3 separate regions of the Homo sapiens genome follow, and regions 2 and 3 are each linked to region 1. Evidence: promoter capture Hi-C in 16 types of primary human blood cells and fetal thymus (Javierre and others, 2016). All regions are on one chromosome and are shown on one strand. Each heading gives the region's core, a stretch centred on a gene start or on the middle of the fragment in contact. The rest is flanking DNA. Distances are from core to core; before and after follow the strand shown.

What was found. The method cuts DNA at HindIII sites, captures the fragments that hold promoters and counts their contacts. A CHiCAGO score of 5 or more calls a contact.
Region 2: a fragment that was not itself captured here is called in contact with the fragment with the promoter of MYCBP2 in region 1 in 1 of 17 cell types (activated CD4 T cells); the score reaches 8.0 in activated CD4 T cells.
Region 3: a fragment that was not itself captured here is called in contact with the fragment with the promoter of MYCBP2 in region 1 in 6 of 17 cell types (naive CD8 T cells, total B cells, total CD8 T cells and 3 more); the score reaches 8.5 in naive CD8 T cells.

Annotation. Positions count from the first base shown.
Region 1 is chr13:77,325,469-77,328,632 of GRCh38, reverse strand. It overlaps MYCBP2 (MYC binding protein 2), which reads left to right and starts at 1,539. Exons shown (of 83, transcript NM_015057.5): 1 at 1,539-2,159. The coding sequence starts at 1,858. LOC127898562 reads left to right here and starts at 1,645. Exons shown (of 1, transcript NM_001414702.1): 1 at 1,645-1,728. The coding sequence starts at 1,645. The coding sequence ends at 1,728. LOC107984564 (a long non-coding RNA gene) reads right to left here and starts at 1,588. Exons shown (of 2, transcript XR_001749930.2): 1 at 1,498-1,588; 2 at 435-1,369. RefSeq lists enhancers at 1,060-1,389, 3,060-3,164 and silencers at 1,580-1,959, 2,000-2,119. The HindIII fragment of the contact is 13,146 bases long and covers 335-3,164 here.
Region 2 is chr13:79,490,518-79,493,681 of GRCh38, reverse strand. All of the region lies in intron 1 of NDFIP2 (Nedd4 family interacting protein 2), which reads right to left. Among named protein-coding and RNA genes, the nearest start is that of NDFIP2-AS1, 11 kb to the right of the region's middle. The HindIII fragment of the contact is 2,909 bases long and covers 55-2,963 here.
Region 3 is chr13:79,386,824-79,389,987 of GRCh38, reverse strand. All of the region lies in intron 1 of RBM26 (RNA binding motif protein 26), which reads left to right. It also overlaps the pseudogene RNA5SP33. Among named protein-coding and RNA genes, the nearest start is that of RBM26, 18 kb to the left of the region's middle. The HindIII fragment of the contact is 2,656 bases long and covers 181-2,836 here.

The DNA.
Region 1 (3,164 bases), core at 290-2,789:
CACCATTGTCTTGGTTCTCACTCCAGGGTTAGGGGCTGCCTGGTCAACACTGAGGTCTTTAACTGTGCTGAAGCATTAGGATAGAAATTTAGTCTAATAAATACTTACTGGATACCTACTACATGCAAAGTCCTGAAGTGGCTGAAGGAGACACAAAAGCAGCAAGCTCTGAAGGAACTTAGGTAAGGAAACAAGACAAATACAAAAACTTAACAGGGCTAATTACAGTACTAAAATACTATGATTCCACATGTCTTGTCCTTTGTTCCTATGTTTATCCCACTGCTAATTATCTTTAAAAAAACTAAATGAAATCCATCCATTATTTAAAGCTTCAGAAAAAAATGCATTGCTTTCAGCAACCTTCCACCCTAAAACTAGAATTAATTTACTTTCCTATTCCTTGTTGTTTGCACTTCTCAAACACTAAGGAGGATTTTTTAACATTTATTTTATTTTTTTTTAAGAGAAGGCCATCCGAAGAAGAGGCACAGATATAAGAACTAGTACATAGATGAAAGATACAGTACTGGGATGACAGAACTTATAAATTATTTTGTCAGGACTGTAAATTAGGAAACTCTTCAAATTGAGAGTCAAAGGATAAAACGTAGTAGGAATCAAAGTGCATTGGCACGTATATTTCTAGAGCATATACTTAGATGGGGTTCGTAGGTTAGCTTGGAACAAAGGACTGAGCAAATGTTACTTTTTTATAGACAACAACAAGATATGTGATGGATCTGACATTTTCAGACGCTATACAGTCTCCGTCACAATTATTGTTTCAGATCGCATTCAAGAATTATCTTTAAAAATGTAAGTTTGGGCAGAAAAAAATAAACCATTAAATGACCACTGCCAAGAGATAAAAGTGCACTCTTAGGTGAGTGAGGAGTCAATAAAAAAGAGTAATTTAAAAAATATTATTGCTCCGTTGAGAACAAGAATTTGGGAATGACTCTGGCTTGTGAATACTAGCCTATCTGTTATACTTTCACACACAAAATACTTTCACACACAAAAAAGAATGTGCTAGATTACTACCTGTCTTTGTAAGTAAAAGCTGTGTTAAACAAGCGTAAATCCTAATGACAAAAACCATATAAAATAAGATCGCTAAAGGCACTTCTAATTGGGATGGTTTTCTCTGCCTTAAACTCTGAATTAACCAGCACAATTCACAGTAAATCTTCCTGTTGGCAGCAGAGCCTTGGAGAAGAGGTAGCAGAAGAGCGTGCCACTCCTCCTCTGGCGATGGGCACGTTCCCCCTTGCTTTCTGGTCCTCGTTCTTCCACCTGGAGGGAACCTGAAGTCGAACGTCAGTAGCTGACAGCCTCCCCAGCACTTTCCTTACTCTTCTTCAAGCTGCCAGTAAAACCCGGAGAAGTGGACTACTTCAGATTCCGCACAACCCAACAGCCCCAAACCCAAAGCCCCGAGGCGGAGGGAGTGGTGGCGGAGAGGGGGTGGGGAGGAAAAGGGGCGGCAGTTACTGAGCATGTGCGAGGAGTGGCGCATGCTCTGTGAGGCCGGCAGCTTCCCATTGCGGGTAGCCCCGGCGGTGGTGGCGGTGGTAGCGGTGGTGGCGGCGGCAGTGGCGGCACCGCCTCCTCCTCACATTCCCGGGGTGGCGGGGTTAGATGAGCGGCCCCAGTAGCGGCGAGGGCGGCGCGGGGGGGAGGAGGAGAAGAAGGAGGAGGAGAAGGAGGTCGCTGTCTTTGTAGTCTCCCTGCTGCGGGAGCCAGAGGCCGCCGCCGGAGCCGTCGTCGTTGGAAAAGGGCTGTGTGTGCGCGCGCGTGTCTGCCCGCCCGGCCCGCGGGGACGAGGCGGCGGCGGCGGCGGCGGCGGCGAGGATGATGATGTGCGCAGCGACTGCCTCCCCCGCCGCCGCCTCCTCGGGGCTCGGCGGGGACGGATTCTACCCAGCCGCCACCTTCTCTTCCTCCCCGGCGCCGGGGGCGCTGTTCATGCCGGTTCCCGACGGCTCCGTGGCTGCTGCGGGGCTGGGGCTGGGGCTACCCGCCGCGGACTCCCGGGGTCACTACCAGCTGCTGCTGTCAGGCCGGGCCCTGGCCGACCGCTACCGGAGGATTTATACCGCTGCGCTCAATGACAGGGACCAGGGGGGCGGCAGCGCTGGACACCCAGCCTCCAGGTGCGTCCCCAGGGTGCCCTTCCTTGCGCCCCATGCCGCCCTTCCTTGCGCCCCATGCCGCGCGTGCACCCGCGTGTGTGTGTGCTTGCGTGTGTGTACCTGCGCATTTATTGAGCTTTCAGTCCGCTCTGGATGTCTGTTGGCAGGAGCACTTATCGAGATAGGAGGGTGCGGTGGCTGCAGTTTCTCGTGTGTGTGTGTGTGTGTGTGTGTGTGTGTGTGTGTGTGTGTGTCTGCCTGCCTATGTGGGGGGATAGTGAGGGGTGGTAGGGGAACCTGTGATGCTGGAAAAGGCGATGGTGCTGGTCGGCTGTGACACGTGTGTGTATCGTTGAGGTAGGAGGTGGCATGGGTAGAGAGGGTAAGAGGATGATACACGAAGAGAATTGCAACAGTGGCAAGGGAAGTGGCGTTTTCAGTGTCTCTGCCGCAATGTTATTTGCACGTGCCGCCTCTCCCATGACATTCCTTCCAGCCCTTTCCACCTCCCTTCAATCTGCCTTTCACCAAGAGGAGTCATGGTATAGATTGGTTGAGTTTTGGATAAGCAGGCCCGAGGGATAGGCGTGAGGTTTGCTTTAAAAAGATTTATGAATAAGGGACGCAGATGGAGATCTGTGTGGATGCGAAAGGTGTCTGATAGAGATTTTTAGAGCTGTACTTTGATAACCGGGCCTTTTGGTCTTCTAGAAATGAGGTTGCAGTTACTCTTGTGATCTGATGTCCCATCGGCCATTTCTCTTCATCCTCTGTTCGATTTCCTCTGTTACTTACAGGCTTTAGAGTAGAGAGGGTTTTGTAGGGAAAAGGGGAAAACTGCAGAACTTCAGAATATGACAGCTGGTACAGCGTTCAACTGCCACTAGCTAGAAAATCTGAATAGCGCGTAGATTTGTCTCTTTTACTTGGGTTGGCTACACCTTCAGCTTCCTTGATGTAGATGTTCAGTTGGTTTCATTTTCTTTTTCTTAAAATGTGGGTGCTTTTTTTTGCTGAGGGCTCTCC
Region 2 (3,164 bases), core at 260-2,759, 2.2 Mb before region 1:
ATGTATTTTAACTCTGTTGCTACGTTTACGGTAATAAAATCTGTCCTCTAAGCTTTCCTGCATAACCTTGAACAGAACCTCCCTCGGATAGTCTTCTGTAAAATGAGAAGATTGAAGAAAATGATCATTAAGGACTCCCCTATTTCCACAATATCTGGAAACAATTTCCTTTTCTCTTTTCCATGGGTAGACCAAATAACCTAACCATGGTTACTATCTTGCAAATGCAAGCCACTGGTTACAAGAGGAATTATTCAAAAATACCAGAACTCATCTAAACTGATTCATCAGCACTATTATAAAAGCAAAGGATATACCCTAATTATGAACATCAAGAATATCAACAGTGCATAGGCTGTGCAAAACATTATTACTTTTATAGCACAGAATTCTGTAAAACTACATATCACTTTATAAACATAATAAAATATACCAGTATCGCCATGCACACACTTGGAATCATTCAGAAAAGACATTCATTTATTTCTTTAATAAGTATTTATTTTGCACCTATAACAGGACCAGAACAATGACATAAACTATTATAAACAAGACAGATCTAAGCCCTGCTTCCCACTGAGTTTACAATCTAGTGGGGAAATACACACCATGAAATAAGGGCTATAACAAGGATAAGTGCACACAGTTAAAAGAACACGCAGAACTTGAAAGTAAAGAGCAGGAAATGGAGATGGGGAGGTAAAAGGGAAGGAAAGGTTTTTTGAAGAAAATAACATCTAAATATAGATCTGAATACACAATTGAAATTAGTCCTGGAAGAAGGAGGGAGAAAAGAAAAAATGGGAAAGATATATTTAAAAGCTACAAAGCAAGAGATAGCATGATTTGGGGTGGTGATAGAGAAACAAAAGCATTATAGTTTAAAACATGGCCAAAGTATGCAATGCAGTAACAACGTAGGCAGGGATGAGGTATGCAGGTGCTCCTGTTGTTCTCTAAAGGTTAAAAACAAATACTTAAAAGGGCCTTAAGTGTGGCCAGGAACAGTGGCTCATGTCAGTAATCCCAGCACTTTGGGAAGCCAAGGCAGAAAAATGATTTGAGAACAGACTGGGCAACATAGTAAGACTCTATCTCTAAAAAAGAAAAAATTCAGCCAAGCGTGGTGATGCATGCCTGTAGTCTCAACTACTTGGGAGGCTGAGGGGGAAGACCGCTTGAACTCAGAAGGTTAGGGCTGCAGTGCTGTGATCCACCAGACTGCACTCCAGCCTGGGTGACACAGCGAGACTCTGCCTCAAAAAAAACAAAACTCTCAAGTGTTATTTCAAGACTCTTCCCTTTTGACAGAAATCACACAAAAAGTCATCTGATATAGATGAAAGCTCTCCCGAGGTGAGGAGAACAAATGTTCTACAAAAGCTGTCACTTTGAACACTTATAAAGAAAGGAAAAAAAAAAAAAAAAAGGTGTCACTACTGGATTTCCTCAGTCCAATATCCAAAAGGCTATATGTCCTAAGACCCCCAAAATTAGTAAAGGGGTTAATACCATCACATTAGAAGATTCTTTTACAAAATGAAATCCAGTTCACTCCCTTATTCTCAAAACCTCTGTCCAAATAGCACAATTTCTTTACATAATGTTATGAGTAATTCTGGAGAAACATCATAGATGAACTAAACCACAGCACATTCCTGAACTTTTAAAATATTAAACTGTACATGTTCAAACAAATCTTAAAAGCAAGCAAGTCAAAACCCTGAAATAATCTGACAGTAAATCTTAGACTACTGCAGCATTTCCCAACTTGCATTTGGCACGTCTTTAACAAGAATTTTACCCACACCCTAATTCCAGCTAAGTGATCAAACATCTGAAAGAAACCATAACAACATGGCCCGAAAACAGAGACATACGATGATTTACAATTGCATAGCCTTAATTACAGTGATCTTGTCAGTAAATTTACATTGACTAAACGTCAGTAGAAGATTCCATACCATTCCACAGTTAATTAAACTCAAGTCAGGCCTACATATATAGAATACATACAAAATCCTAAAATAACATATTGCGAATACACATACAATTGAGCAATGTTTTAGAATGAAGGTCAGATATTAAGAAAATAGTAAGAAGAAAATAGTTGCCAAGTAATCAATATAAAAAAGATAAGGAAAATCAAACCAGTATTCACAACTCCGCAGTTTATGAAGGTGATAAGCAGGGCCACTGCATATGGCTTCATGGGCTACTTATTGAACAACTCTAAAGGACACCATTCAGAGAGAGAGACAGAGGAAGACTAAGCAATATATTTCAAGCTGGAAGAGAATGCAAAGAAACAACCACCACCATCACCCCCACCTTAAAGAGCCCAGGTCTCAGTAGCAGAAACAGAATAAATATAAAAAGGAATAAAATAACATAGGCAAGGTTTTATGTCTATAAAATTGGCCTTGAACTAGCACCATTCATTCATCTTTATCAAATACTGAAAGTCTACCATATGGCAGGTATGGAAAGATATATACAGTAGTGAGCAAAACAGACAAAAATCTCTCTACCACCATGAGGCTTAAATTCAGGGAGAAAGAAGGGAGGTAGGAAATAAATAAGCAAAATATTTGGAATACCAGAAGATGATAAGTACTCTGGATAAAAACAAACAGGAAACAGCGATAAGGAGTACTGTGAATGGGATATAGTGATTTAAAATAAGGTAGTCAAGAATGACCTCAATGAGGCAATCACACTAACAGAATGAAGATTCTACCATATTTGAATAAGCTGTTTTTGACACTCTCACAGGGAGTATTATATTCTCTTCTACTATCCACTCATATCCATCCCAATTCTAGGACAGACTAGGTGCTTGGCTGATTATCAGGTGCAAGTAAGGGATGCAAAACAACCTCACCACATTGTTAGGAATTTATTTAGAGACTGGGTGAAATAAAAAATTAATTTCTTAGAAGCGTCCTTCAACATGCCAAGCTTCAGGCCTATATGAGGTACATTCCTATAACATCTACATTGGGGTGGGCAAACTAGAGCAAGCAGGCCAAATCCAGCACACTGTTTTTGCAAATAGTCTTCTGGAACACAGCCCATTTGTTCATTTTCATATTTGGTATGGATACTGCTGCACTACAATGGCAGATCTGAGTAGCTGTGACAGAGACCACATGGCCTATAAA
Region 3 (3,164 bases), core at 259-2,758, 2.1 Mb before region 1:
TGTTGCTACTACAACTAGTATTTCCAGTAACACTGCACATCATCCCATAAAAGTATACTGTTAGGTAGATTCCTATTCTTTCCAGTGGTTCCATAGAATTCCATTATGTGAGTGTATTGCACTTTGTTTAAATAGTGCTTTATTTATGATGTAATTATTACTTTTTAGGGGAAAAAAGCTTATTTTCTTGAATTATTTAAGTACTTCCTGTATGTAGTCAAGGAAAACTTACCAAAAGACTTTGACTTGAAAAGCAAAATCCTCTTTACGTTTCCCATCCTTGAACTTTTACTGTTAATATGTAGTTTTTATGCCGTTACAATGGCTGAAATCCAGTGTTTTTGCATGACCAAATCATCTACGGCCATACCACTCTGAACACCCCTGATCTCATCTAACTTGGAAGGCAAGCAGGATTAGGCTTGGTTAGTACATGGATGAGAGACTATAGTTTATGTAACCATTCTGTTCTTATTTGTCATTTAGGTTGTTTGCTTTTTTCTTTGGCTTTCCAAATAACTATTTTTTTTCCCGTTTCTTTTTTTCTTTAACAACGCAACTAGTACACTGTTTTTGACTTTTTAAATAACTCTGCAATGAACATCTTCCTCTATGTGTATGTTTGCTTTATTCTCATTAGTAGAAGTTATTTTCTAGAAGTCAGCTAATGCTGCTGTTGGAGGCTTTCTTAGTATTAAGTATACTTTCTTGGTTTAAATCTAGTACTTCAGAGGAACTTGTTTTATGATGTTATGTATTGCATTATAAGTAGTTCCTCATTTTGTTTTTTGTTTCAAAGAGCCATTTTAAAAGAAGTTACGGGAGATAGTGTGTCAGTGTAAATTCTAGCCTACTTTTGAGTTCTGTATATCTCTGCTCCATACATTCTGCAATTATTTATTTTCCATTTTACAGGCAATTTAAAAGTTGATAAAAAAATTTATAAAATCTTAAATGAAGTCACTTATAAATGAAAAGTGTTTGAATGATTATAGATTCCACATAGCATTAATATATACTTCAGCCGGTCGTTTATTTGTTGCTCCTTGTAATAGTTATAAATGCAATAACAGGTACTTTGAGGCCTGTAACTTGTGATCTTTTTTGGACATATTTTGTAAGAAATTGTCATTGTGACGTTTCTTATTTGTTACTATTACTTTCTTTAATGATCTCAAGTGCTTATCTTACCTTTTTAAAAAGTTTAATTTTTTATAGTAGCAAGCAGACTGAAATAGGTAGAACTTATTTTTGAAAACTGCTTTATAAACTTGCAGTTACCAGTCTCTAAAGTTGTTAATGCACTTACCTAAATTGAATCATGTTAAGTTTGGATGCCTGTGATGACATTAAACAGCCAAATTGGAGGAACAGTTAAGTTCTGTGAGAATACATGAAGTTTGGAGGAATCGTGAGTATACATTGTGATTAGGAAAAGGCTCTTGAATCCACCTAGCCTCTGTGGGTTTCAGATGTAGAGAAAGTTTTATTGCTATACTGAAGTGATTGGACAATTTTGGAGCTATATTATGAGATGTGGGGAAGGTTAAAACAGGAGTTACTTGATCCAGTCTCTTTTTAAGAATGTTGCTTGCTGGGCGAGGTGGCTCACGCCTATAGTCCCAGCACTTTGGGAGGCCCAAGTGGGTGGATCACCTGAGGTCAGAAGTTCGAGACCAGCCTGGCCACCATGGTGAAACCCCATCTCTACTTAAAATACAAAAATTAGCCAGACGTGGTGGTACATGCCTGTAATCCCAGCTACTGGGGAGGCTGAGGCAGGAGAATTGCTTGAACCCGGGAGGCGGAGGTTGCAGTCAGCTGAGATCGCCACTGCATTCCAGTTTATGGCATGTAGAGGTTTGATTAGATAAAACGTTTTGAAGACAAAGGAAGACTAGTTAGCTATTTCTTAGTCTAGTTTAAGAGTGAGTTGTGAAATGCCTGAATTTAGATTGCTATAATGTTGGTAATTAGAAGCTCCTTCTCAATACATTGTGATTTGTTCTAGGGAAAAGGCAGGCATAGTTATCTGTAATACCAATGGGAGAAACAGTCAAACATACCAGTAGTTGCTATGTAACAGTGGTAGAAACAATGTACAGAAATTATATAGGTCTGGCAATTTAGGAGAAATACACAAAATGTTTCTATTAAGTAGAATTTATTTATGCCTTCTAAGGGCTCAAAATTTGGTCATGAGTGCTGAGGAAATGGGATTCTGTGACTCTTTAGAAAGACATAAAGAAAAAAAATTCTCTTGAAGATTCTAATGCTATGTACTAAATTATTTTGAAATTCAGTTAACTAAAAGTTACTGGAATGGGAAGGGAGAAAGAGCGCAAGGTGGTGAAAGCCAAATATTTTTTCACAAAAATGACCCACTTTTTCAGATCGTATGGTTCAGTGCCTTTTTTTTTTTTTTAAATGAGTAAACTAAAGCCTAGAGAAATAAAATGCTAACGCAGGATTATATAACTAGTGAATAAAGCAGAAATAACACCAGACTGGAAATCTGAAAATTGTTTTTTGGAGTACAGTTCAGTGCTTTTCTTCAATACCAGACTGCTTCATGGAAAGGCTAACAATTTGGCTTGGGACAAAGTAGGTTTGAAAGGTAATATAGGACTTAAAATATAGCAACCAGAATTTAACTAAAGTATATTTTTAGGGGTGATTATAGGCATTTTTTTTTATCATAGTTCATTATTTAGTAATCCCTTAACGATTGTTAGGGTGCTTGGCAGGTTAATAAAGTGTGTCTTATTTGTAATTATATTTATTTGTAATTATTTCTAGTTTGGCAAGTCAGCTGTTAGATGAAAAAACTGAAGCTTAGTTTGCTTAGTCTTAAGATTCATGACCGGAAAAGTGTCCATAATAATTTCTCATTTTTAAAGATAAATTTTGGCATGACTGTGGTAACCGTATCAGAAAATTTTGGTAGCAATGTTAGAGAAAGACTTAGAAGTGAATCTCTAACATATATAACCACACAGCATTAGCCAGACCTTTTAAAGAAATATGAGAAAAAGGTTAAAGGCTTAATCGACTCAGCCAAATTTATCCAACAGGATGATAGAACTAGGTTTTTTGTATTTCTAGTTTTAGTGCTATTTCTTTTGGATAATTTTGCCTTTTTGGTTTTAAAAGAAAATGTTCAC